Regions from separate parts of the Homo sapiens genome. Here all the other regions are linked to region 1. Evidence: promoter capture Hi-C in human tissues and cell types (Jung and others, 2019). All regions are on one chromosome and are shown on one strand. The core of a region is centred on a gene start or on the middle of the fragment in contact, and the rest is flanking DNA. Distances in the headings are between cores, read along the strand shown.

Region 1 (7,184 bases), core at 3,461-5,960:
TCCATATAACATCCCCTCCTAAACCAAAATCAGTTATTACATCAGCCCTCATCCTGTGCTTCTTCTGTTACAACATCTTCCGAGCTGCCCTCATGGATTCCAGCTCTGAAAGCATCGCTGATCACCATGGCCCGCACGAGAGGATGCTCTGCAGGCTCCGAGAGCTTCCAGAGCTGTAGCATCTGCAGTGGGATGTAGGGCTCTGTGGCAAAATCAAGAGAGAAGGTTGGAGCGGAAAGGAGCCTGTGAGAACGTAGTCCTGACCTCTGGCTCTATATCTAAGGGGACTAAAAGTCAGAAAAGGCACATAAGCACATGCCCAAGTTCAAATCTGAGGGATCTAGCTCAAGTGCCAGAGCCCAGATAGTAAGATCACAAAGCCCTGGGACACTGCAGCATGTTTTCAGCATGGGTCAGAGCAGGACCAGCCAGAGCTAAAAAGCGAAGGCCGCCGTTTCCCACTCTGCTCCCCATCCAAACTCAGTCTGCCTCTGCCCAATCCCACTAGCAGGTGCCTGGAATTTGACTGTGCACATCTTTTGTTTTCTTTCCAACTTTTTAATTTTACGTCCGGGGGTACATGTGCAGGTTTGTTATAATGGATAAATTACACGTGGCAGGGGTTTGGTGTACAGATAGATTATTTCATCACCCAGGTAGTAAGCATAGTACCTGATAGGCAGGTTTTTGATTCTTACCCTCGTCCCACCCTCCACCCTCAGGTAGGCCCCTATTGTTCCCCTCTTCATGTCCATGTGTACTCAATGCTTAGCTCCCACTTATAAGTGAGAACATACACACATCTTTGATTTCCTTTAAGAATGTAAATACCTCTGTAAGTAGCAACACTATTAACTGTTCACACCTTAGTATGAATGAGTAGATTTGATCCTTTCCAACTATTAACAGATTTAGGGGTGAGAACAAAGAGCAAAGAAACTGAGAGCACAGCAGGCAAATTTCCCTGCATGCTAATGTTTCCAAGGTCAGCTCTGCGCATGGGGCTGCAGCAGGCGCAGGCCTCAGGACAGTGGCACAGTGAGGGCTTGCGGCTGGTGGGACTCTCCAGGTGTCAGACAGGACTGTGCTTCGAAGCATCTGCCCTGTCTGCCTCATGCAGGTCAGCTGCACCACTCCAGGTGCTCTGGTGAGGTCTGCATAGAACTGAACTTGGGGACAGGATTACCTCATTGCTCCCCTAGGGTAGGCTCCTATCACATTCCACAATTCCTGATGTCCCCTGGTTAACTGTTTCAGGAGTGAGGTGCACAAAACATCTACAATTAGATCTCCACCCTGGGGCCCCCTGAAATGACAGGAAGGAAGAAACAAAAAGTAACCAGGAAAGAGAGGTAACCCTACATGTAGGGTGAATGGAGGAAGGGAGGAAGGGGCACGAGCATGGGAAGGAGAGTGAGTAGGATGAATGATTTAGTCATAATTTGGGCTATGAAATTTTCCTAAATGAAAGATGAAGAGGGAAAATAGCAGAGTGTGGTGAATACATTTCAGGGTCTAGGTTTCAAAACAGCCTTCACCCCACCTTGAATACATGGAAATAGCGTGCTCCAACCTCTTCAACTTTCTGAGGTGTTCCAGAGTGTTTCAAATCTCCAGACACACCTTCCCCTAGGACAGGAAGGGAATTCACACATCCACAGAAAAAAAAAACAAGACATTGTAAAAGCGTTTACCAAAACAGCGAACACAATAGGCGTGCTTATTAGATTTCCCCAAAAGCACAAAATTAAATTTTAAAGCAGAAGGCAAAAAGGCTCTTCTCTGATAAAAATTTTAATATGTTTTCAGTCTTATTTCAGGGGACAATTTTCTTTAACAGAAAAATCAGCACAAAATGACAAGATCAAAGTAGGTTGGCAAAAGATTACTTACTGATATGTTTATGATGAAAAGGGATAACAGAAGGATGACAGGGATGGAGGGACAGAGGGGTAAGGAGAGGACTTTTATTTGCCAGGTAACTCACGCAGGGCTTGGAAAAGCAGAAAGACACAACCCCTTCCCACCATAGTGGTTAAAAGAGAGAGAGATCCAGTTTGGCCAATTGGGAAGAGGAGAAAACGCTGGGTCTGTGGATAGTGCTTATCCAGGGTCCTGGCCAAAGCCATCATGTTTGATGAAATGACAAGTAACACATTTAATTTCCTAGGCATTCATCGGTCCTTGCATACACAAACAGGCACGCAGCTTCACAAGGAGTTAATTAGCCTAACACCAGCAATTAGATTCTCCAAACTGGATCGCAGCAGAGGCGCTGGGTCCTGGGTTTCACACCTCACCCCATCCAAGGTGAAGCTGTAATGAGGGTGTTTTGCACTTTGTCAATTATTTTTCAGCTCCTAGGATCCTTTTTTGGTCTAAAGTTGTTATTTTAATGATCTCTGTTCCGAATGGGGAAATACAAGAAAGAGGATTGAGGAGGAGGCAGAGGGAAGGAAAGCGAGCGCTCCAGCGTGTCCCACTTGTACTTTCCAAGGCCCCCTCCGCCCCCTCCCCCCACACTGCCTCTTCCCTCTGTGCATGACTCACCCTTCAGGAGCTGTTTCAAATGCCTTACTTTTAATGTTTCCTATCACGATAGAAATCCAACAGATTGGCATCAATTAAAGGGAACCCCCAGTTTTGCAATCCTCAAACTCAAAAGCATTTTCTGGTTTCCTTACTGCCTTCATGAAAACCAAGGTGCTCTCATGCAAGATCCCCCACGTGCTGGGGGCTGCCCCTCCTGGGCTCCCTGGGGGTCACGTGCCCTGGAGAGGCCACAGAGGACGACGTCCATGACTAACCATGCCCACCGGCTGGGAAAAGTTCAGCTTCCGCTCCAGGCCCCCCAAACACAAAAAGATTATAATTGGCAGGGCTGCAAAATTGTTTTGTTTACTGTCAGATAGGAAGTACAGAAGAGAACGCTGATGGTATTTTGACACCCCCCCCAAAAAAAAAGTGGGCAGGCATTTTTTTAACCATTGTGAATAGAGTTTCAATAATCACAGTTCCCACCCAAAATAGCTGCCTACAGGAGGTGGAGGAGAATCTGTTGTGGTGGTTAAAGAAAATAAGAATTAAAAAGTGGAAGGGATTTGTGGAGCTGGAGAATCAAGACTGTCATCTGCATCTCCGTGGAAGGGTGCCCTGAGGAAGAGGTGTCACTGGAGAATCCCTCCCAGAACATGCAGTCTTGTCAGGACTGGGAATCGAACTCCCCAGCTGCGGGTTTAACGGAAATCAGAGGGATGAAAATCATCTAAACTCTTCAATGCCCCTAGGACTTGGAAGATCACCCCCAGACTATCAGCTTCAGAGTATCCCGCAGGTAGGCAGCGCAACTGGTGAAGTGCGGTGGGCACACAAGCAGAAGCTGCCTTCGCAGAAGAGGAAGAAAGTTCGAGACCAAGCACATCGCCTGCTTCCCCATGGGTCCCTGCTTCCTAGTGACTCACCTACCTAATATCTCCCTTTAGCAGAAGCCAAAGGCGGAGGAGGCAGGGGGAGAAAGGAGTTTCCCAAGGGTCTCAGAGCAAGAGAGGCCCCTGAGGTCTCGCGATTTAGAATGCTCAAGGGTGCTTCTGGGCTGAACCAGCTGCCTGCCGGGGTGAGCTGTTTTACTTCAAGAGCAGTTAGCAGAAGCAGTGTGGATGGTGACTTCAGCACCACCTCTGCCACAAATGCACCTGTGCACCAAAACAACCTGCGCACCTACACGGAGCCACCCCCTCCACCAGCCTCCACCTCCCAGAGCTGCGGGGATGCTCCGGGCCAGGCACCCCTTCTGGGGACAAGGGTGTAAGCTTCACATGGTACCAAACCGAACTCTCTATCCCGTTTTTTGGCTTTTTCTTTTTTTTTTTTTTTCAGGATACCCCAAGCCTGGAAAGTCTTCCAGAGTTTTCGGGAGCTAATTAATTATGTGATTTCCTCTCCTCTGAGAACTGTTTTGCTGGCGTGTCACCAAGTTGTCACGTAGGTGCCCACCAGGTCAAACAGAATAGACCATCCTCACCCACCCACCCCGGGGAATGTCTCCTTCCACCAAATAAAATGAACTGAGACAGGCAGGAAGGAGGCAGAAGTTTGAGGAAGGACTCCAGTTGAAGGTCACAATAGTTTGGGGAAGGCAGATCAAGGTAATACGAAGGGGACAGACCCTATAGCGGAAAACACAAACAACCAATCACGTTTCTCTCGGAACCAGCCTATCCATGATGGGTGCACCAGGAAACAGCACACCCTGGGATCCAACTTCTTTCACCCAGCACACCCGAATCTCCACCCCAGCCCTGCAGACACCCTAGCCTGAGACCAGACCTATTTAGACAGACCTGAGCGCAGCTAATTAGGAGTAGTAAACAAGCCCATTTCTTGCCAGCGCAGAAGTTTCCCAAATTGTCCGCTTGTTTTCCTCCCAACAAAAGACAGTGATTTCCCACCTTTATCACATTCCCTCCCAGAAACTTTTCTTTCTGCAATCCCTCCACCTAGGCTAAACTGCAAAGCCACTGGCAATGGAGACGCAGGCGCTGCACCCCCGGGACGCAGGCAGAGGTACCTTTTCCGCGAGGCAGAGGGGCCGCCGGTGCCCAGAGGCCAGCTGCCCTGCCGAGCAGTAGAGCGAAGCTGTGGGCTGGAGCACGCTGAGGATTACACGTTCCTGTCTCTGCGACCAGACCTTTCGGCAGCTCGGACCAACTGTGCTAGCGATGCACTTAGCAATTATCTGCTGGCTCCGACGCCCCGCCCTCTGCTCTTGCGATTGGCTCTCCAGTCCCGGGCAGGACTGCATTGGTTTCAGCCGACCTCACTCATTGCTTTGGCTCCTACTATTATCTAAGCCATCAAAGGAAATAATTCCATGTTTCATTGACAACCTGTAAGGCTCTCCTCCAGCCCAATGTGGGGGCAGGACCGGGAGGCCAGTGGAGAGAGGGGAGAGGAGTAGGAAAATGTGGGGGAGCGGGGTGGGGGAAGGAGGTGGAGGGGAGAGGAAAAGAAGGAGAAACTGTGGGGGGGTAGGAGGGTAGGAGGGAGAGAGAGAGAGAGATGGAGCTATCAAGCAATCAGATTCTTGCTCTAGCATTTTAACTTCCACAAAACAGAGCCCATAGCAACAATTTTCTGGCTTTATTTTCCCCCTAACTGGTAAATGTTGCTGAGGGCAGAGAGAATAATAACTATGGGGTGTCTGCCGGCATGAGACAGACTCTAGAAAGCCGAGCAAGGTTGAGGGCTGAAGGGATGGAGTAATGCTTTTCACAGGGCCACCCTGGAGGACATGTGAAGGACATGGCAGATTGCTTGGGGAGCATAGTAGGTGCATACCTGGAGTTTATCTATCAGTACTTTATCTCACAGTCCCCCTCATCCCCCAACCTGAGGAGACAATTTTCCTTTGCACCCTGTCCAAAGAGTCTCAGAAGAGCTATTCTTAAAATCCATAAAACTCTGGAGTTTCTCACTGTTCTCACTGGGAGGTCCAGAAAGCCGAGCATTCTAGAGTGAATGATTCTGCTGGGACCCTCACTTTGGTTTATTCTGACATGGCTTAAATTAATCGCTTAGACTTTCATCAACAACCTACGCACGTGAAGAGAGAACATACCCATCAAAGGGTGGGGACAGCTTAAACACTTTTCCTTGTTCACCAAGAAATCATAAAGTCTCACCCTAGTTAAAATGGCTTTTATCCAAAAGACAGGCAATAACAAATGCTGGCAAGGATGTGAAGAAAAGAGAATGAACCCTCCTACATTGCTGGTGAGAATGTGAATTAATGCAGCCACTATGGAGAACAGTATTGGGGTTTGTCAGAAAACTAAATATAGAGCTACCATCTGATCCAGCAATCCCACTGCTAGGTATATACCCCCAAAAAAGAAATCAGTATCTTGAAGAGATTCCTGCACTGCCATGTTTATTGCAGCTCTGTTCACAATAGACAAGATCTGGAAGCAATGTAAGTGTCCATCAACAGATAAATTAGATGAAGAAAATGTGGTACATATGCGTAGTGGAGTACTATTCAGCCATAAAAAGGAATGAGATCCTGTCATTTACAACACCATGGATGGAACTGGAGGACATTCTGTTAAATGAAATAAAACAGGCATGGAAAGACAAACTTCACATGTTTTCATTCATTTGTGAGAGCTAAAAATTAAAACAATTGAACTCATGGACAGAGAGAATAGAATGATGGTTACCAGAGGCTAGGAAGGGGCGGGGGTGGAATGGTTACTAGGTACAAAAATAGAGTTAGATAGAATGAATAGGATCTGGTATTTGACAGCACAACAGGGTTATTACAGTCAGCAAAACATATTGTACATTTTAAAATAACTGAAAGAGTACAATTGGATTGTTTGTAACAAAAGGAAATGCTAAATGCTTGAGGTGCCAGATACCCCATTTACCCTAATGTGATTATTACACATTGCATGCCTGTATCAAAATATCTCGTGTACCCCATAAATATATACACCCACTATGTTCCCATAAAATTAAAAATTTTTAAAAATTAAGAAGAAATCATAAAGCACAAATTTTGACCTTCCCCTCTCCTTAATGTATTTGTCACCATATGGAAAAGACATCACTTGGCAGCTAAATTTTCTTAACTAGGTAAAATATTTATTATTAATGTTTCTAAAATGAAAGAGCTTTTATAAATCAATAAGTACAAGACCTATAACCCAATTCAAAAATGGCAAAGGACAAAATGGGCTGAATTTTTTAAGAGAGAATTATAAAAGCGTCTTTTAAAGAAAGCTTTTAAAATATCAAATTTCAGATGATCCAGAAACTAACCCTTCAGCCTTCTTATCCTAGGATCTCCATGTCTTTGGTGAGGCTCTGGTCCCAGTCCTGCCCTGGCCTCCCCTGGGGCCTTGAATGGCTGTAGTCCTTATCTTCAGCTGCGTCCTCTGCAGCAAATGGCAGGTGCCCCACTGCCTTGTATGGTGACTTTCTATTTCATGCATACATGCCTGGCTTCCCTAAATACATTTCAAGCCCTGTAAAGACAGAGATGGTATCATGCATATTTTTATCACTCCACAGATAGCACCTAGCACTCAATAAGTGGGCTGACTACTAAAACCCAATTCAAAGCATCCAGGGTGCACAGCCCTAAGCCTCATGCGACCCTCATTCCACTGCAACTACTCTTC
Region 2 (7,184 bases), core at 1,439-3,938, 58 kb before region 1:
TAAGCCACTATGATTCCAGGATTTATCCAGCATGACCTTAACTAACTCTACTTGAACCTGAGTCACTTGGCATGGCTGGGGAAAAAGAATACACAAAGTGCACTTTTTACCCAGTGAAACCTCTTATGTGCTTTGTAGGGGAGCATTGGAAAAAGCCAGAGATATTCAAGGGTCTGAGAGTCCAGAGACCAAACCTAATCTCTTGTCTCTCCAGCTCAGCTCTCTGGGTCATGGCACTAAACAGTGCAGACCTCACTGAGAATGCTCATTCAGGTCAGTACCGCTCGATTTCTCATTTGAACAGAGTGTGGCTTCTGGGGGCTAAAATCAAGCAACTCGTGGGAAAGCAGAGTATCATCGCAGGACAAGGCGTGTGTCCTGGTACACGGGCTGGGAGCATCTTTACAGATGAGCCAACCAGGAGGATGTTCTCAGGTACCAGTGGCACCTGCCAAGAAGTCTGCTCTGTTTCTCTCTGGTTTGGAACAGACCCATGCTCCTCACCCCTGGCACATTGGTGTTGGTGCCTTGCAGAATCTGCTTTGCCATCTTGTGAGGGGCAAACGGAGCAGATGGCCCTGACCACTGGGATGCCAGGTAATGATCAAGTGCCACACATCGAAGTCGCAGGGTCTTGTCACCTCGCCAGAGATGACAGACAGCTGGGCCATCTGGCAACAGCCCTGATGCTGGGGAGGAGGCACACATCTCATCACTCCACCGCTTAATGTAGTTACACTGTCAAATTCTTCCCTCAAATCCGTTCTTCACGCCTTTTAGCTGAGGTGAGCAGCAGTTGGCCAGTTTCCAGGAAATGAGACTGCATTGATATAGATTCATTCCCTGGCTGGGAAGTTCCTGGCTCTGGGGAAAGCACGGAAGCATCACTGTGAGCTGGTGATGCCCCTCTTTTGTTTATTTTTTTATTTCCTGAGACAGGGTCTTGCTCTCTTACCCAGCCTGGAGTGCAGTGGCATGATCATGGCTCACTGTAGCCTCAACCTCCTGGGCTCAAGCAAACCTCCTGCCTCAGCTTCCAGAGTAGCTGGGACTACAAGTGTGTGCCACCATGCCCAGCTAACTTTTTGATTTTTTTAAGATGGGGTCTCACTATATTGCCCAGGCTGGGGGTGATACCCTTCTAATGCACTCCTCACTCTCCTCGTCAGCTCTGCTTAAGCCTGGCAGTGAACTATTGGTGTCTTCAACCATCCTGCCCACCTACCATGGCCAGACTGACTCTCAGTCAATGCCACCAGCCCTGCCCCTCCTAACACCCTCTCACGCTTGCCAGGTGGGGGAAAGAAGACCAGCATCAGGGAAGAGCTGGAAGGAAACAAAAGACATGAACAGTTAGGTGGACAGTGAAGGAAGGATTTGGAAGGTGAAGAGGCCAAAATAAAGGGGCGGGACATGAAGGCAATTGGAACTGAGTGGCTTAGAGAGAATGAGGTCACATTAATGATGGAGATAAGAATGAAAACATCACAGCACCAGAAAGGGCCATAAGGACCATCTAATCTCACCCTTTCACATTCCCAAATAATATGGAAAAGACACCCTGGAAAGTGATGAAACTTATCCAAATGTACCCTGTACATAAAAGGCAAAATGGAGATCTCTAACTCCTGAAATAATGTTCTTTCCCTGCAGCTCACTGCCTCTTCCAGAATATTTACTACCTTCCTTTGAAGAATCACCTTGGGCAGGCAGAAACCAAAAACACCTTTTTAAGCTTTGGAGAAACAAGCCCTCTGTGACTCTGACCAGCAGAAGCAATGGTGCAGAGATGCCTAAAAAGACCACCTTCCAGGTCAGATCCCCAGAGGCTGGCGAGACGAAAGCAAGGGCCAGCGACAGGCAGCTGTGCTCAGGTGTGCCTTGCCTCTTCTGCCACCCTCCAGAAACTTACAAGTAAGCATTTTGTCTAGAATGGCAAAGCCCAGAGGTTTGTGAGACGTGAAGATGTTAAGGTCAAATTGGAAAGTACATTTAAGTACAGATTCCACCTCAAACTGAGTGCTAGCTACAATCCCACCACCAGGTATCTACCCAAAGGAAAAGAAATCAATATACCAAAAAGATACCTGCACTTGTATGTTTATTACAGCACTAGTCATGACAGTGAATCGACCTAAATGTCCATCAATGAATGAATTGGTAAAGAAAATGTGGTTTACCATAGAATACTATGCAGTCATAAAAAGAATGAAATCACACCTTTTGCAGCAACATGAATGGATTGGAGGTCGATATCTTAAGTGAAACATGCCAGGCACAGAAAGTCAAAAGCCAGGCGTGTTCTCACTCATAAGTAGGTGCTAAAAAATGTATAACACATGGACATAGAGTGTGGAGTGAAAGACAATGAAGTCTTGGAAGAGTGAGGGGGTGGATGATGAGAAATTAGTTAATGAATGATGGCTAACCTAAAAGCTCTGATGTTACCACTATGCATTCTATGCATGTAACAAAACTGTGCATGTACCCCATACATTTGTATGAATTTTAAAAGGCAATTCCTGTTATAAGCAGTAATTCCTATTTCCCACCAAACAAAACTAAGTGGTGATCCTCCCAAGTCAGTGGGCTGTGAGATGCCTACTGATGGAGTGGCCTGGACTCACATTAAAATAAGTACTTGGAAATCTTGTGGTGGACAAGGGAGATGCATGGCTGAGGTGCCCTTTCAAGGAAGAAATGCTTGCCTCTATTTGCTGAGAATACAGTTGGCACTCAGCCTTCAGCAGCCTGTCCCTTCAGGAACGGCTTGCTTCAGAGAGCCATGCCCCCAAAATCACACTCCTCCGGGGCACCCATGGCTACTAACTGACAGCTGCAAAGGTGAAAAAGCCCAGTCAGTGCAACACAACATGGACCAACCCTGATGGGCCTTTTCAGCTCCACGACTCCCCATGCAGTTGGCTGAGGCTACTATACCTGCACCAAAGCCCAGTTTCTCCCTCTTTCCAATCCTGCTTCTGCTCCTCCCTCCACAGATATCCCTCCCAAGAGCCACCCGGTAGGCACCCTGAGCACTAAACTCTGCAAAGTCTCTTCCCTGGCAAACCCTGACTGTGGCATTTCTTCTCACTCACCTCCCCATGAAGCAGAGCTCACACAGCCCTACTGTGGACCTCACCTCATTAGACATTGGCAACCTGCTACCTCCGTTAGTCAGAGAGCAGATCCATTCCCAAAGATTCAGAACTCCTCCAGGAGTCCAGAAACGTATTGTCTGAGTAGCATTTATGCAGTACTAGGCAAGGCATTGTTTCTGGTGATGCTGTATTCTGAGATAGGTTCAATACTGCTTAATCATATGCAAAAGAGAGAAATAAGCTAGTGCCGAATTCTGGTTCCCATTCTTTTGATCTCAGTCCCCAATGTAGTTACAGTTACTATAGTACCATCTGACTTGAACCGATGATTCTAAGTTCCATAATGTCAAAGAAGTCATATTTCAATAACACTTCCTACCCACTGCTAAAAATATTGTTTCTTCCCACACAGCCATTCCTAATGAGATATTACAAGCCACCTGGCACCCGGGGGAGTTCTTCGGCTAATTTTCTGTGGAGCCCCACATAATGGAAACTGTGTACAATAGAACCCTGTTGGATGCTGGCGTCAGGGGCAAAAAGAAGAGCAACATCACAGGCTACTTAGTCCTATAGGAACAACGGTCCTTGGCAACGTCATTCGATCTGCAGCATGACTCCAGGGTGAAACGTAGTAGAGTCTAAAGTGTTTTGCGGTGAACTCTCCAAATGAGGAGCTGGCCCCAGTGGCGGTTGCACTCTCCCCAGGACCTCAGCCTACCCCTCAGTTTCTGATAAGAGCCAGTTTGAAACCTGAGTAACTGCTAACTCCTACTGGATGTAAATGCATCTGGGACCAGGCAAGGCCTCCAGCTCAGCTGCACGACCAACCAATCCCAGCCACTCCAGAGGCCGCCCCCCTGCCACCAACAAATGTGCCTGCTCCCTGTCCCTTCCACGTCTTGTTAAATGCTAGACTGTGTTCTCTCCTCTGCATCTGTCATGTGCTAAGCATTGCCTCTCTGAGACATCCCCCTACTCCTCTTACCCAAGCTGGGTCAGTGCCCCCTCCCCAGGCTCCCAGGCTCCCTGTGCACCCCCATAGGTGTGCACGCCCGACAGGTGTCGTACACCCCTGCAATGCTGTGCTTGGCTGCCTGCTCTTCCTCTAGACTGTGAGCCCTTAGAGGCAAAAAGTATCTCTCTTCTCTGTACTCAGCACCCAGCACCATTCTAAGCACTTTAGCCCGATAATAATAAACTGATAAAATAACAAGATAAAATGCACTGGGAATGGAGTAATAAAAGTAAAATGCACTAGTGTAATCTATTGCTTCCCAGTAGAACTCCCTGTTTCTATTTTGGGTCTTACCCTGAACATTGTTAAGAAGAGTCCAGAGGGTGGTCCTAAAGAGATCACCTGCAGGATGCGCTTCTGCACTCTCCTGGGGCAGAACAGTCTCCAGGAAGAGCCTGGCAGCACGTGCCCACAGGTGTAGACATTCCAGTGTCTAGAGCCAAGGGAGGAGCTCCACTTTCTGATTAGAAAATGATGCCTCTGTGATCAGAAACAGGTCTGGGTAGAAAGTATTAGGTCTTCCCTCCCCCAAGCCCCACAAGGCCCTCCTATAGGTGAGGCACCTGAACCTGTAGGTGATGCTAAGAAAAAGAAGCAAGTGTGGCTCCTGGGGGCAGCAATGGTGGTCCCCCAAGGGACTAAGCAAGTGCATCAACTGTCCCTCTGCCCACCAAGTGCACCTCTGTTCTGAGCTATACCCTCCCATGGCCTCATCCACTATTCAGACCACAGTGAACTTGCAGAAACAGGGCAGCGATTCAAGCCCACGTTTCCGGACTCCAAATCCGGGGGTCTTTCCAGAGCTTTTAAATCAAATTGTTGGCTTAGCATTTCCTTCAAGGGTCTTGTAATCCTTATTAAAGCACTCCAGTTATCTTCCAGTTATCTTTCTTTCTTTTCAATTGCTGAAAGGAGAAATAATTTGTGGCTCTGACAGAATTCCGGATTTCACAGTCAGAAAAGTCAAAGCCGATTGCAGGCTGCAGTCCACCCAGCCTTGCACAGTGCCTGCCTGCACTCTTCCACTTGATTTGGGGGTCAAGAGAAAGCAGTGATTTACAAGTCATCCTCACCTGCCAGTGACATAGAAAGTCCATGAACAACTAGGCACTTCTCATCACTTAATTCCACTTTGAATTTCTGCAAGAAGAAGGTAATAATGATGGAGCTGTGACATGGCTGGTCCTTGTCTGGTCTTTAGTCAACCAGAGTCCTACAGGATATTATAAAATACATTTAGTTTTTAAGATGGAGTTTCACTCTTGTTGCCAAGGCTGGAGTGCAATGGCGCGATCTCTGCTTACTGCAATCTCCGCCCCCGAGGTTCAAGCAATTCTCCTGCCTCAGCCTCCGGAGTAGCTGGGATTACAGGTGCCCACCACCATGCCTGGCTAATTTTTTGTATTTTTAGTAGAGATGGGGTTTCGCCATGTTGGCTAGGCTGGTCTCGAACTCCAGACCTCAGGTGATCTACCCACCTCAGCCTCCCAAAGTGCTGGGATTACAGGCATAAGCCACTGTCCCCGGCCTAAAACACATTTTTTAAATGACTTCTCCAAAGCATCTGTAGCTCTGAAATGCAAGCCCCTGACAGAGAGGCAAGGCCAAGAAGCAATTTTGGTTTCCTTCTACCCATCTCTTCTAAATGGAGCAAAACTGTATCAAAGTCTCTCATTGCTAGGACCTTGTTTATAAATATGAATCAAGTCCTTCATTCTAACACATTTCATTTGGGCAACCTCTCCAGTCACTGCTCGACCCCACAGCCCCATGACAAAGGCCCCAGATGTACAACTGACCAAGAGCTGGCTGGATCAGAGACCCAGCAGGAGCTCATGGGGCCCTGTGTCCAGCTCACTCCTAGGTGGCGTTTGTATGTTGCAAGATGGGTCAGAACTGGAATGGAGCTGAGGAAGAGACCCATAAGATCCTGCTTTTACAGGGGACAGAATGCTTCCCAGGAGAGTGGACACTTCCTCTTCCCACTGGACTAAAATCTCTTCTCTGGTCTTTCTAAAGCAGCAGCAGCAAGCCCTAATATTTTGGGCTTTTATCTCCAGGTTCTTAGCACTTTTCCAGCCTTCAATACTCACAGTGGTTACTCCACAGAAGTGCAATATTGACTCAACAGCTGCTAGCTCTAGGATCTCAAGGAGACTCAAGAATCACACCTGAGACTGCTCCTTGTCCACTCTCTGCAGAATGTGTGCATGCAAGTCATCACTACATCCTGGTGGCATGAGATGGCAGAAGCTATCAGAGAAATGAAAATCAGTTGAGTGGGTTTGATGCCAGCCTTGAGTTTTGGCTGATTGGGCAATTGGGGCATGACTGGAAAATAAATCCAGCAAGAAAGTGCACACATTTTTAAGATCAGTCCCTTCTATCTTTCCCCTCAATTTTATAGGCTATGTACACAGTGCACCTAGAAAACGGAGACTCACATAACTGGAAATGGAACAATTCAGCAAAAGTCCAACTGATAGACCCTGGGCTTCTTCTTTAGCCCAGCCTGGAGCACTCTGGAAAGTGCCCAATGATTCCACCAGCCGACCTAACCGCTGAAGAGTGACAGGAGAAGAGAATATTGTTTTTTTCTAAAGAAAGGAGGTAAATAAAATAATAATTTACCACATGTGATAGGTAATTTTATGTGTCAACTTGACTGGGCTAAGGGATGCCCAGAGAGCTGGTAAAACAGTATTTCTGGGTATGTCAATGATGGCGTTCCCAGAAGAGATTAGTGTTTGAATTGCGTAGACTGAGCAGAGATCACCTCCACCAATGAGGATGGGCATCACCCAATTGTTGAGGGCTAGAATGGGACAAAAAGGCAGAGAAGGGTGAGTTTGCTCTTTCTCTCCTTGAGCTGAGACATCCATCTTCTCTGGCCCCTGGGATATGGGTGCTCCAGATTGTCAGTCCTTCAGATTCAAGCTGAATTACATGACTAGCTTTCCTGGTTCTCCAGCTTGCAAATGTCAGAATGCAGGCCTTCCCTTGGCCTCCATTATCATGTGAGCTGATTCCTGAAATAAATCTCATATATGTATATATACTCTTTC
Region 3 (7,184 bases), core at 1,887-4,386, 49 kb after region 1:
AAAGGTAGAAGAGAACAAAGGAAGGAGGAAGTAACTTGTGGAATGCTGAGAAAGGTAAAAACACCTTTAAATAAGGAAGAGGAACAGACTATGACCTACTGCTTGCTTGGACCAGTATAAGTATGCTAGGGCAAATATTTAGGCTAAACTGTGGGAGCTAAGAACATAAAGTACATTGATTTCTTTATCAAGGCTAGCAGATATTTAAGAATGTTAGCACAGGTCTTTGAATAAATTTTGCTTCTAAGAGAAGTTACTATTTATTCCTAATTAAATGGGGAGGAAAGTCTTTGAAGAGGAACTTTTACTTTATTTTTTACAATGGTAAAATGCACGATGGAAGCTTGGGCTTGTAAACTTCCAGAGACAGCGGAAACAGGGATGCACTGGTGAAAGCTCCAACCAGCTTGTGTAAGTTTATTTAAGAATTATGCTAGCCATTTAACATCCTGTTTGTAGCTTGAAATTGGCCAGGGGGAGATTGTTGACACCACAGAAATCAGCAAACTTTACAAATCAAGGTCCTCCGCTTCCATCCCTGTAAAACATTTATCAACACACCCCTAGGCGGGCCCTTTCTCACATCCCTCGCCTGCCTCACTTACTCTTAACTATTGCCCTCACACTACCTACCCCACCCCCAGACAGCCCAGCAAAATCTTAAGCAGTTCAGAAATAAACTGCCAGAGACAGCCAATGAGAAACAGCTTGAGCTGCAGCGAGAGTGCCCTTGAGAGCGGATGCTGAGACTCCAGAGCCTGGTCTCTCCTTCTCTCTGCTCCTCAGAAGGGAGTTAGTCGGCAGATATTCAGGTACAAGAACTCTTTGCTGCCTGTTAGAGTTGAAAGATCTCCGTGCCAGTTCTCTGAGGGGCAGGTGGATGAAAGAGGAAAACCCCATAGGGTCACAGGGAATTCTCAATGTCAACCCAAAGCACAGAAGTGCCCATAGAGGGGGCTCATGAGGACAAGCCTGTGAGGCACACAGAAAAGAAAAATAATTGTCAGCAAGGACCAGTGAGTTTAGCAGAGGCCAAGTCTGTCTTTCCCCTTGCAGGAGCTGAGGGGAAGCCAGGAAAGCGGCGGCCTCAAGGCTGAGAGGGGATGCACTCCCCACCCCCACCACATGGACAGCTTCAACCTGCGACCTCAGGGCTCCCCAGAGCAGCAGCAACCCTAACCCCTGAGAGGAGCCCCACCCTCCACCGGGGACATGCACCTCTGTCTCCTTCCTCTGTCCCCAGAAAGGAGCTCTTCCCACTGCAAGTGAAGGGGAAGCCGCTCCCTGAACACCATCCTTGTGTGTATCTAGCGCTTTTGCTCCTATAGTATTTAAGATCCGCATCAACTTTTTTATCCATCTCATCCCTCACTTCTCAGGCAAGTTTGGAGACCTTACCCTTTACGTTCTCCTTCTCCTTCGGGTGGTTGGAGACCGCGGTAAAGCATCGGGTACCTCCTGTACCTCAAGGGTTTTGCTGCTCCCTGCTCAAAAGCCAGAGTCTGCCATATGGCCTGCCAGCTCCTCTGTCACACTTTCTGAGCTGTTCAGAGTCTAATCACACCTTTAATATCCAGCCTTACGTCCAGCAGCTTCTCCTTCACCTGAGCTTTCTGCTCACTGTTCTGCAAACACAAGGCTTCTCCCTCCCACCCTGCTGGGCTCCTGCTGTTTCTGCAACCTGGATGACTCTTTCCTTCCTTTAATGCATCAAGAAATGCCTCTTCATCCAAACTCAGGCCAGATTCTCTATCTTCCAGGCAGCCATGTGTCCCCTAATCTAACCCCCACATCTTCTCCCTTCTGTCTCTATTCTACTTTGACCAGTAACTTATGACTTAGGTCTTAGCTCTTCTTTAAATGTTCTCCCCAGCTGAATGGCAAGCTCCCTAAAGACAGACTCTGCATCTGAATACTGTTCTCTGTGTTCTCCACAGTGCTTAGCATAACACTGGTATCCATTAGGTGCTTAATAAATACCTTGCTTGGTTGGAATTATTAGGGGCTTCTGTCTATAATATTGAGTCTTTTTCTTACTGGGTCCTATCTCAGCTATAGTAATAGTGTTTGCAAGACATTCTTATCACTGAGTAATACATGGATACATTAATTGTATTCATAACAATAATTGCTCCAATTTATTGAACAGCTATTCTGTGCTCAAAACAGCAAAGCATTTTACAAGCATTATCTAATTTACCTCTAAGGTCAGAACTATCATAATCCCCATTTCACACATGAGGAAACTGAGAAACAAAGAGGATGTGACTTCTCCAAGCAAACAGGCCAGAGCTCAAGGTCTTCAACGTTGCGTTATTCTGCTGTTGCCAGGAGCCCTGCACACATTCTGTGGAGAACAGTCTAAAGTGCAGTGAATAGCATTAGCCACCAACTGTTCATGCAAATCAGCATGGCAAAATAGGCGAATTTCCAGCTAACTAGGTGAAATGAGCATAAGCATTTATACCTACTCTCCCGAAATAGTAGTAATATCATAAGAAAGTAATAAAAGAGGAGTAAATCTACAAAGACAATGAGAAGAGAATAATTTATAGCAGCAGAGAGACAGCAGCAAGATTCCAGAAGTCAAATGGCGGGCGAAAGAGCGGTGCACCCCCACACAGGCCAGGGAGGCTGGGCAGCTCGCCGCTCACTGCAGGACCCTGGGAGGCCCAGAATGAAAGCATTGAGTTCCGAGGGAAAGTGGGGCAAGAGAAGAGACTAAAAAGAGACCTGTCTGAAAGCTTTCATACAGAGTAGTCAGGCTCCTAAATCCCCTCCCCATACGCTGCACAGCCAAGGAATGGCCCTTCCTTGGCCCTGCAGGGTGAACCTCAGAAAAGGGCCCCTGAGGCCCACAGGCAGACATGGGCCAGCTGCCAGGCTGAAGAGAGGGGCTGAATGATCTCTGTCTACAGAACAAAGACACCTTCATCCTCCTTCACTCCTCACCATCCTCTTCCAGCCCCAGTCCCCAAATGCCAGTGGCCAGACAGGAGATGGGAAAATATTCAAGAAACAGAATTCTATGCTAACAAACAGAAAGTCCTGAGTATATGTACAGATACAGTTGAGTGTCTCTCAAGGGAAAAGTCAGTTTTCAGCCCCACCACCCTACCGTGAAGTCCAGAATCAGTGCCCTGTTGCAATCAGAGAGCCTCACATCAACCCTTGAGTCCTTAATAATTTCAAAATGTAAACAGACAGCAAAGTATCAACAGATTTTTTTAAGGAAAGAATCTAATATGAAGATCAAAACAAATTATTTTTTAAATCAGGAAGCAGAGATTATACGAAGAACAGACAAGAAGCTCCAAAGACTATCAATATCTTTAGAGAGATACAAAAAAGAAATGACACCATGAAATGAGAACAGAGGGCCCCAATAGCAAAATGGGAGCAATTAGAGAATAAGAAACTCTATTAAAAAATGAAATAATAAAATTATGAACATCAAACATTGTTTAATCAATAAAAGAGTTCATAAAGTCAAGGAACTATTCCAGAAAATACTTTAAAAATGGAAGAAGTAGAAGGGGAGGAGGAAGAGGAGGAACAAACAGATGAGCTATGGAGAGGCAAGGAGGAAAATTCAATGAGCAATTCAGGGAGACCAAGAGTTAACTAATAGAAGTCCCATAGAGAAGAGAAAAAAATGAATAAGATGATACTAACAAAGAAATAATATGGAAAAATTCCTATCTGGGCAGATTAAAAGGGCCTATTTAATAACCAATGCAATGAATTTTAAAAGGTTCACAGCAAAGAACCTTAACATGAAACTTTACAACATGTGGATAAAAATAATAATCAAAATAAAGTAGGAAAGAGAGGAAGGAAGGAAAGAAGGAAGGAAGGGAGGAAGGAAGGAAGGTAGGTTACATGCAATGAACTAGGGATATGAATGACATTGGATTTCTCAAGAATTTCATCAGATGTTAGAAGGCTGTGGGACAATTTCTTTAAAGTTCTGAGGGGAAAAATAACTTTTAGTTCAGAATTAAATACTTAAACTGTCAACCAAATTTGAAGGTAGATTTGCTTCTATCTCTCATGCACTATTTTCTAGAAGCTACCAGAAGATGAGTTGCAGCAATAAACACGTGCATACATACCAATAAACAGATAGATGGGGGGAGTGAGCCAAGAAAGAAGAAGACTGGATGCAGGAAATGAGTGACACATCAGAGAAACGGGAGAGAAGTCCCAGAAGGACAGCCATGTCCCATGTGCCATAACTAGAGAAGGGACAGAAAAACAGAAAGCTTCAGGGGGAAGATATCCAGGAAAAAAAGGAGAACTCATAATAATAACTTTTAGAAACCCTAGTGGTTCTGCTTCTCTGATAAAATTCTTACCTATGCTAAACTAAGCACATGAAAAGCATGTCTAGCTCCAGGAAAAACAAAACAAAAGTTTATACAAGAAAAAAATTTGTACATTGGATGGGTTAGCAGTCAACAATATTTTCATAAGCCAAATAATTGAATAATCAACTATTAACTTATCCAAAGCATGTGCTATAACTGTACTGAGAAGATTGAAAGGGAAGTATATGCCTGCAGGTGGGAAGAATAAGAATGCTGAATCCTTATCCAAGTTTATTCCCACCTCTGGGCCTTTGCACTAGCAGGTGCCTCTGCCTAGAACTCCCTTCCCCAGAGAGGACGAGGCCCACTCACTCATCTCATTCAAGTCCCTGTTTAAATGTCTCTTCTTTTGTCCAATGTATCAGCAATAATGATCCCCCAAACTGTAGCACTCTTATCATCCTACTCTGCTTTATTTTTCTTCAAAACATTTTCTAACAGATACATGTAACTTATAGACTATTGCTTGCCACCTTGGAGATTTTTAATAAATACTAGTTGAATAAAGTCATGAATGAATTACCATGACAGAAAATCAATAATTAATGTCTGTCTTAGCTTGAGTTTCTCCTGAAGCAGACCCAGAGACAAGAATTAATGCAAAATCTTATTTGAAGGGATTGCCAGGGCCTGAGGGAGAGAGGGAATGGGGAGTTATTGTTTAATGGACACTGAGTTTCAGTTGGAGATGATGAAAAGTGCTGGAGATGGATGTTGGTGATGGTTGCACAACAATGTACTTAATGCCACCCAACTGTACACTTAAAATGATTAAGATGATAAATGTTCTGTGCATTTTACTACAATAAAAGGTATTTTTAAAAAGCTTACTTGGGAGATACAGAAAACACCATAGAGGAGTGGAGAGAGTGACAGGAAGGGAAGCCACCAATAATGGTGCATGATCAACCAGAAACCCCTTGAGCAGACTATGTCTCAATCCCTCAGAGAAGCTCCGGAGAATGGTGCAGCACCTGCCTGAGTTAGCCCACCACAAGGGCGAGGGAGTGGGGGGATTTATACACCAAGCCCTGCTAGGTTGGATCTGCTTTTGAGGAAATTGCCTGACATTTCATGCCTGCTCCTGTGCACAGGTGAGCAGTCTTTGAAGAAAATTCTCCGGCAAAGAGATGAAGATATTGCCAGCTAGAAGTAGGCAAGCCGCACTGAGGGATAAGGTCCAAGGGACCAGGTGGGACCCTGGCAGGTCAACTGCAATGCCTAAAACTGATGACCCAAAGGATTGTGGTGAGCATATGTTACTTAGAAACATGGAGTTCAATACCTCAAGACCCAGCTGGAAGAGTTCACAGCAGTTGCATTTAGGGAGCAGGACTGAGGAATGGGAAAGGGATGACTACATTTTGTTATAATTTTGTCCTAATGTTTCAAAGTATTATTTCACTTTACCAGGATAAAGTGGTATATAATTTGGATAAATTACCAGGAAATCATCCCATGCTGACTTGATTCTAATTTTTCATGGGAAAATATTATAAAATGATTAACCAGCCCTGTGGAAAAAGGAACTCAGTGAATGTTAATTGAAGAGAACTGAAACCAAACACCTTGGAAGCCAGTAATCAGTTGTATTCAATTCTAAAAGCTTTTGTTAAGCTCCTTCTGTATTCTAGACATGGTGCCTCATGTTGCAAGATGAAGAGATAAGAACCTTGTAATGAGTTGAATAGTGTCCTCCCAAAATTCATATGTACACAAAACCTCGGAAGGTGACATTATTTGAAAATGGAGTCTTTGCATTTGTAACTAGTTAAGATGAGGTTGCCATGGATTAAGGTGGCCCCTAAATTCGATGACTGGTATCTGTATGAGAAGGCCATGTGAAGACACAGAAAGAAGGTGGAGGCAGAGATGGAAGTGATGCATTACAAGTCATAAAACACCAAGGATTGTCAGCAACCACTAAAGCATGGGAGAAAGGCAAGGAATGAGTCCTTCCCTAGAGCCTTCAAAGGGAGCACGGCCCTGCAGATGCCTTGATTTTAGACTTTTGGCCTCTAAAACAGTGAGGGAATAAGTTTCTGTTGTGTTAAGCCACAAGTTTTTGGTAATTTTTTATGTCAGTCCTGGCAAACTAACATAACCCTGTTCTTACAAGTTTGAGTCTGGGGAGGAAGTGGCCTTGGACCAAGGAGATGTGTCCTTCCCCCTCTGTTTCTCCTCTCTGCTGGTCAGAAGGCAAACCTAACAGGCTGAGCTAGAATAGCCATTGTGGACCAGGAAGTGGAAGCTGTGCATTAAGGGAAGTGGATCAACAAGGTAAGCCCCCCATCTCCCTGGGCCAGGGAAGCCATGTTGACCAGGCACTGCCGACTTGCACATGACTTCTATGTGGAAATAAGCACTGACACTGTATAAGCTACTGTCTTTTTTGATTTGCTGTCACTTACTGCTGAATATAATCCTAATTCAGATCTGGAGTCAGATTCATAAATGAAAATACAAAATTCAGTGTGGTCAATAACATGGTGGAAACAAGCCATGATCACAAAGAAATGAAAGATCAACTTAACCTGGGAGATTAGGGAAGGCTTCTCAGGAAAGGCAACAGTAGCCAGATTTAAGAGCATGAGAAGGAGATTGCCAGGCAGCCTGGATATGGGATGATAGGTAGGCATTTCAAAGAGGGAACCCACTTACCGACACGGACGGGGAGTGAGAGTGCAGTGCTTGGGACCACGTGCATGGAGAAAGCAGAAGGTGAGAGGAAGTTAATGATGAAGAGGGAGGCAAAGGCAGGGTGATAAAGTCTTAGAATGCATCTTATGTCGTGAAGAAGAGCCATAAACAGGT
Region 4 (7,184 bases), core at 1,878-4,377, 35 kb before region 1:
CCAAGTTAGGTCATGAGGGGTGAGTGGAAAAAAAAAAGGCAGGAGAGGTCACAGAAGTTCCTGTTTTGGTGTAATGAGATCAGAAGAGCAATTTCTGCAGCACCTCCTGGATCTACTTTCCAGTCTTACTACCCAAGCAACTTTAAAATAGAGAGAAAGATGTCGAGGTTAGGCTGAAGGAAGAGATTGTTAACTCTATTGAATGAAAAGTAACAAATTTGTATGTAATATGGTCTAGAAAAGGATTCCGTGTGGCCAGACCCATTAAGGACTAATCCCAGCTCTGAGAGCTGTGCCTGGAGCAAGACATAGATCTTTTCAGCCTCAGTTTCCACATCTGAAAATATGGAGAATAATATTTGCTTATATAGAGTCAGCGTTCAGTAATGACACCTGCCACAAAAGGCTGTTTTGTAGATATCTCCCAATTAAAAAGAAAATGATGATGGTTCTCATGGCTTTTACAGCCTGAGGGGAGGTTGGGACCACGAGATGAGCAGAGGCCAAGCTGGGACCATGAGATGAGCAGAGGTCAGGCTGGACCCAGATAGGATCCAGTATTTATCAAGGTCATTGCCACACTCTGTCCGCAGGATTTACAGGCATAATTAACATATTGATTAAAACAGACAATTTTTCACTTCATTTATCCAATATCATCTTAGGTCCTTCAGAGAATATAATATTCCTTTTCACCATGATATTGTTACATTGGACAACAGCAATATTCCTTCCTATGAGCTTCCAGGCCCACACATGAAGCTCTGTGAAGAGCCACAGGGTGAGAATAGCACCCAGCCATAGATCTGTGCGTTTGCCACCTTGGACCTTAGGATAATAGCTCCCAAATCTTTTCAGTCTATGGAGAATTTTGGCAGAGAACACAGACCACATACTACATGTCTCTCACTTGACTGGGAAGAGCTTCTGGCTTTACCCAAAATGGTCCACAGATGTTCATGAGCGACCCCTTGTCTGTTTGAAATGGGAGAAGCAGCAAGCATGGCTCTGCCTGGTCGTCCTGGAGTCTGCAGTCTGGAGGTGGAGAGCTACATGCAGTGCAATCGGACCAATGACTGACCAGGGGAAGCACCTGGCCCTATGTGAGCCCTTAGGAGGCTGTTGCACCCACCATCGGGAAGGCCAAGAAAAGCTTCCCAGGAGAAGTGGTGGGAGACAGACCCAAAAAAGGAGCAGATCTCAAGGTCATTGTCACTTCCTCAAGGAAGCCTGTGCTGACCACCCCTCCTAATCTAAATTCAGAGCTTCTGACACTCTCTTACAGTCCCTGTTCTTTCTCTTACTGATCATTATTGGTATTTACATATTAATAGTTCATGCTTCCTCCTCGATTAGTCTGAAACTCTGCTAGGGCCAGGGGGGACCCTGTCTCTTTTGTTTAGCAGCACTTGGTCCAGTACCTGGCACATGCTAAGTGCTCGGTAGGTATGAATTAGATGAATCATGACTGAGAAAACTCTCCTGAAAGAACAGCCTGTGCACAGCTACAACCATCTGATCTTTGACAAACCTGACAAAAACAAGCAATGGGGAAAGATTCCCTGTTCAATAAATGGTGCTGGGAAAACTGGCTAGCCATATGTAGAAAGCTGAAACTGGATCCCTTCCTTACACCTTATACAAAAATTAATTCAAGATGGATTAAAGACTTAAATGTTAGACCTAAAACCATAAAAACCCTAGAAGAAAACCTAGGCAGTACCATTCAGGACATAGGCATGGGCAAGGACTTCGTGTCTAAAACACCAAAAGCAATGGCAACAAAAGCCAAAATTGACAAATGGCATCCAATTAAAGAGCTTCTGCACAGCAAAAGAAACTACCATCAGAGTGAACAGGCAGCCTACAGAATGGGAGAAAGTTTTTGCAATCTACTCATCTGACAAAGAGCTAATATCCAGAATCTACAAAGGACTCAAACAAATTTACAAGAAAAAAACAAACAACCCCATCAACAAGTGGGCAAAGGATATGAACAGACACTTCTCAGAAGAAGACATTTATGCAGCCAAAAAGCACATGAAAAAATGCTCATCATCACTGGCCATCAGAGAAATGCAAATCAAAACCACAATGAGATACCATCTCACACCAGTTAGAATGGCAATCATTAAAAAGTCAGGAAACAACAGGTGCTGGAGAGGATGTGGAGAAATAGGAACACTTTTATACTGTTGGTGGGACTGTAAACTAGTTCAACCATTGTGGAAGACAGTCTGGCAATTCCTCCAGGATCTAGAACTAGAAATACCGTAAGACCCAGCCATCCCATTACTGGGTATATACCCAAAGGATTATAAATCATGCTGCTATAAAGACACACGCACACGTATGTTTATTGCGGCACTATACACAATAGCAAAGACTTGGAACCAACCCAAATGTCCATCAATGATAGACTGGATTAAGAAAATTTGGCACATATACACCATGGAATACTATGCAGCCATAAAAAAGGATGAGTTCATGTCCTTTGTAGGGACATGGATGAAGCTGGAAACCATCATTCTCAGCAAATTATCGCAAGGACAAAAAACCAAACACCGCATATTCTCACTCATAGGTGGGAACTGAACAATGAGATCACTTGGACACAGGAAGGGGAATATCACACTCTGGGGACTGTGGTGGGGTCGGGGGAGGGGGGAGGGATAGCATTGGGAGATATACCTAATGCTAGACGACACGTTAGTGGGTGCAGCACACCAGCATGGCACATGTATACATATGTAACTAACCTGCACAATGTGCACATGTACCCTAAAACTTAGAGTATAATAAAAAAAAAAAATTAAAAAAAAAAAAAAAAGAAAATTTGGCACATATACACCATGGAATACTATGCAGCCATAAAAAAGGATGAGTTCATGTCCTTTGTAGGGACATGGATGAAGCTGGAAACCATCATTCTCAGCAAATTATTGCAAGGACAAAAAACCAAACACCGCATGTTCTCACTCATAGGTGGGAATTGAACAATGAGAACACTTGGACACAGGAAGGGGAACATCACACACTGGGGCCTGTCATGCGGTGGGGGGAGGGGGAGGGCTAGCATTAGGAGATATACCTAATGTAAATGATGAGTTAATGGGTGCAGCACACTGTCATGGCACATGTATACATATGTAACAAACCTGCACATTGTGCACATGTACCCTAGAACTTAAAATATAATTTAAAAAAAAAAGAAAGAAAGAAAGAAAGAACAGCCTGTGCAAAGGACTAATGGTTGGAAGCAGGTGATGCAGCCAGTGCAAAGAAAAATCCATTCTGGTGAAGCAGAGGTCATCTGAGGGTGAGGAGAGTGGCAAGACCGGAGGCTGGAATAGCAAGCAGTGAGCAAGCCACGCAGCACCATGGAAGCCTTGTTGAAAGGGTCTGGGTGTGATCCCAAGGATGGCGCGGACCTCAGAAGAGCTTTAAGTAGGGGAGTGAGGTGATCTGATTTGTATTACTGTTGCTACAATGTGGAAAATGCTCAGAAAGGAGAAAAAAAAAACTGGTAAAAGCATGTAGATTAAACCATGTGAAGGATTATGGAGGGCTGTTCCAGAAATGGAGGAGAATTTGGAGAAGTGGAGGTACAAAGGAAATCAGTATGAAGTGGAATCTGCATGTCTTAGGCATCCTTTGATGAGGTAGCTAAAGGGAGAAGGAGAATCAAGAACTACCCTCTGGCACGTGGTGTGAACGGTGGTGCCTTTCACTGGGGCAGAGAAGAACACAAGAGGAGGTGGAAGTGGAGGCTGTGAGAAGAGCTGTAGATGATGGGTTCAGTTCACAACCAGCTAAGTTGAAAGTTCCTATGCAGCTTCCAGTAGAAATGTCCAGTACTAATTGCTTGGACCACAGCAAAGCAGCTCATAGCAAGATCTAGACAAGGGGTAGAGAGTTTTAAAAATCCATATGAGGACAGTCATTGATGAGGGGAATACACAAAATTACCCTCAAAATTAATTAGAATAGTTAACTTTCATGAGATACCAATTATGGAAGACCTTGTGAAAATCATTATGTCAGAAACCAAAGTAAAGCCATCTATCACCACTACTCATGCTCTACTATTCATATTTTACACACACAAGTTTATTACAACACTTACCTATATCAAAATAATTATCACACATTATTTCAATTAGATCATAAAGTCCTAGAAAATGGGAATGTACTTTTGTCCATATTTATCTCTGTATCTCCTGTGCCTCACATGGTGTCCAACATAGGGAAGGTACTCAGTCACCATGTGCACTGCATGGAATCTGATTCCCGGATTAAATAACTTTCTTAATTCTTTTCCCAATTAATGAATGCACCTGACCTGTGCTTGGATGGACGTAAACCAGAGGTGGGTGTTCCCGGGTTCAGGAAATCTGGCCCATTTCATCTTGGAGCAGAAAGAAAGGCATTTGCCAATCTGCCTGAGCCACGAAAATCAGCAGGAAATGACCTCGCCTGGGATTCCTCTTTCCTTGAGAGTTTCCTGTTCTCCTCTTACTATGCTGGATGTACACCCTCAGATCTGATATTAATATGTCACTAGAACTTTGCATAAATGAAAGCATTTTTATTTTAAAAGCAGTTGGAGAGAAGTTGAGAAAAGTGGGTCTCTAATGCTGGGGTGTCACGCAAGATGGTCTGAGGATGACAGGTGACCAGGATGGCACACCTCAGGTCCTCCCTATGTAGGTGGGAAAAGATGATTCTGGCAGCTAATGCAATGTGGTAGCAGGGACAAAAAAGTGAGGCATCACACATACCCTGTGTGGCCTGGGTACTCACCCCAGTTGTGGCAGTGATGAGCTGGTGATGACATCATGACCCCAGGTCATAAAGGTGCCACAGTGTCTCCATTTTAAATTCTTTGTCTCAGTGATGACAGTTGGGTTGTGACCTACCCCAGTGACTGGTATTTTTATGCACTGTGATGGTATAACTTTAAGTTCAGCAAAAACATAGAGAGAGCCTCTAGCATGTGAGGAGATGGCTGTAAAAAGTCTAGCAAATTATATTTCCCAAAACCTGAACTATATGTCATAACATTTCAAAAATTGAAAATGTACTGAAGCTGATTTGGATATAAAATTCCAATATTTATGAGGTACGAAGTTCCTAAAAATATAAAATTCAGAAAGCTTTTATTGAAATGCTTACTGAAATTCTTCCTCTATTTAGGAAGTCAGCTTTTTAAATAAAAGGGTGACATTGCACACAGCCCAGAATTTTACTCAATGAATTCTGTGCAAGGTCAAGCAAAAATGTGAAATTAAATCTTACTGGCAAATTTTGATGCAAGATTCCCTTTAAACGTACGCTTTTTGCACGGACATATCTCAGCAAAAGTGAGGGCTGAAAGAATCAACCTTTTGCTGCATTCACACATTCTCAACGGCTTGTAGCAAGAGTGACAAATGCCACTTATTCTCTCGCTTCGGAGTATCACACAATGTTTTGCCTTACAAAGTCCAAGACAAAAAGGAAGACATGAAAGCAAAATACAAGGTGCAAATACAAGCCACGACTGATATCCCTCTGAAAATGTCACCTTCCAGAAAAAAGAAATCTTCCCCGAATTCGGCCTGCATCACCACTGCAGCCTGTGCTAGGCCGTGCAGATCTGGGCCATGGAGAGGAGTTGGAAATGACCAATGGCAGAGGGATCTTCCAGGCAGGATGTGGCTTCAGCCTCTGGGAAACCCTATGAGTGAGCCCAGGCCTCTCTGCTCCAGAACCCTCAGAGGATGGACAATGACCATCAACATCCATCTGCCATCTGTGCCATGCTGCACAGCCAGCTGGGGGATTGAAATACACGGTCTGCTCTCCCCAGCAACCGTGGTGGGAGGGATTATGCCTTTTATATTCTACTGGCACTCAGAAGAAAACTGGAATTTAGAATGTTGGTTACCTGCAATCACACAGCCTCAGTTTCTAAAGCTGGGACTCGAACCCGGACTTTTAGACTCCGTCTTCTGCTGTTTTCACTGTACTACGCAGAATGTGGAGAAGTTTGGGCCCTAAGGGACATTCTTTCTTCCCCCCGCCATTTGCTAAACAGCAATCTGATCGTCCCAACCAATTTTTAGATTTTAGAAGGCCAAACCAACTAACTTTCCAGCTGCTCAAAAGAAAAGAGAGCTACGATGCAAGCGACTGGATTCGACAAAGCCTCGGCCCCAGGAGTGCCCTCTGTGTGCCAAGTGCCAAACAAGCTTAGTGCTTCTGAATGTCTCCTGGCTGAAAGCAGGGATCAACAATTCTGTTTAACAGCCTTCCTAGAACAAGGCATTCCGAAAATACACTATCACCAACCCTGACCTTCAAGGGCCCCTAGAAAGAAAGTGATTCCTTAAAGTTCTTTCACTTGAATTTGTATCTATCACTAAACCAGGGATGATGGCTGCAGCTGCACTCCTTTGCTTTAGTTCTATATCTTGTCTTTCTGGTTTTAAGAATTGGTGGGCACAAGAGGACTTAGGGCTATGGGCACAAGGGTTCTGCACACAATGCTGGTGCCCCAGGGCTGGCACTGGGACGCCCCAAATGCCACATTGTGAGCAGAAACATTTCCGCTAATAGCTGGTGAATGTGCGTTCTGAGCCCACTGGCACCCCAGGCACGTTTCCAACAAACAATGTGGCACACATAGGAATTCATCCAAACCAAGCAAAAATCACTTAGCTTAATAACGCTGCCCTGATTTAATTTTAACTTTTCATAAAGCATGAAAGATGAGTGGGGTGTGCTTGGTGTTTTATAGATTACTGATGAGACTGGGCTCACATCTGGCTGTTTTATCTTTTTTTCCCCCTAAGTTCCTAAAAGAAGAGGGTTAGGAAAGGAAGTTGATGAATAATTAAGAGGAGGGCAACACCTGCAAAATGTGCAACCAAATGCAAGAGGGAGTTTTTGCTTCTCTCTGGTGTGTAAATAGCTGGCAAGCACCCGGGGAGTCCTCGAGTAAGAAATTCAGTGCTGTGTATGTGGATATCCAACAGGATACACATATAAACATGCATACACACACATGCATATGCATGCATGCATGCAACATGTGAACATATTTATACACATACATATGGCATACAAATCCCCCTAATCTACATTTAGACAGCACTCGGAGGGCACAGTGAGCTCAATGGCTAGCCACAGAATGACTAAGA

Evidence for each region. Contacts are between HindIII fragments. The study calls those that stand out against the background at their distance.
Region 2: a contact is called between a fragment that was not itself captured here and the fragment with the promoter of ZMAT4 in region 1, in 4 of the 25 tissues and cell types used here (bladder, dorsolateral prefrontal cortex, mesendoderm cells and 1 more).
Region 3: a contact is called between a fragment that was not itself captured here and the fragment with the promoter of ZMAT4 in region 1, in 1 of the 25 tissues and cell types used here (hippocampus).
Region 4: a contact is called between a fragment that was not itself captured here and the fragment with the promoter of ZMAT4 in region 1, in 3 of the 25 tissues and cell types used here (dorsolateral prefrontal cortex, hippocampus and thymus).

What each region holds. Positions count from the first base shown.
Region 1 is chr8:40,893,116-40,900,299 of GRCh38, forward strand. ZMAT4 (zinc finger matrin-type 4) reads right to left here and starts at 4,711. Exons shown (of 7, transcript NM_024645.3): 1 at 4,568-4,711. The HindIII fragment of the contact is 9,161 bases long and covers 1,094-7,184 here.
Region 2 is chr8:40,837,429-40,844,612 of GRCh38, forward strand. The region is part of intron 1 of ZMAT4 (zinc finger matrin-type 4); the gene reads right to left. Among named protein-coding and RNA genes, the nearest start is that of ZMAT4, 57 kb to the right of the region's middle. The HindIII fragment of the contact is 9,455 bases long and covers 1-7,184 here.
Region 3 is chr8:40,943,591-40,950,774 of GRCh38, forward strand. No RefSeq gene overlaps it. Among named protein-coding and RNA genes, the nearest start is that of ZMAT4, 49 kb to the left of the region's middle. The HindIII fragment of the contact is 3,187 bases long and covers 1,544-4,730 here.
Region 4 is chr8:40,859,771-40,866,954 of GRCh38, forward strand. The region is part of intron 1 of ZMAT4 (zinc finger matrin-type 4); the gene reads right to left. Among named protein-coding and RNA genes, the nearest start is that of ZMAT4, 34 kb to the right of the region's middle. The HindIII fragment of the contact is 5,134 bases long and covers 561-5,694 here.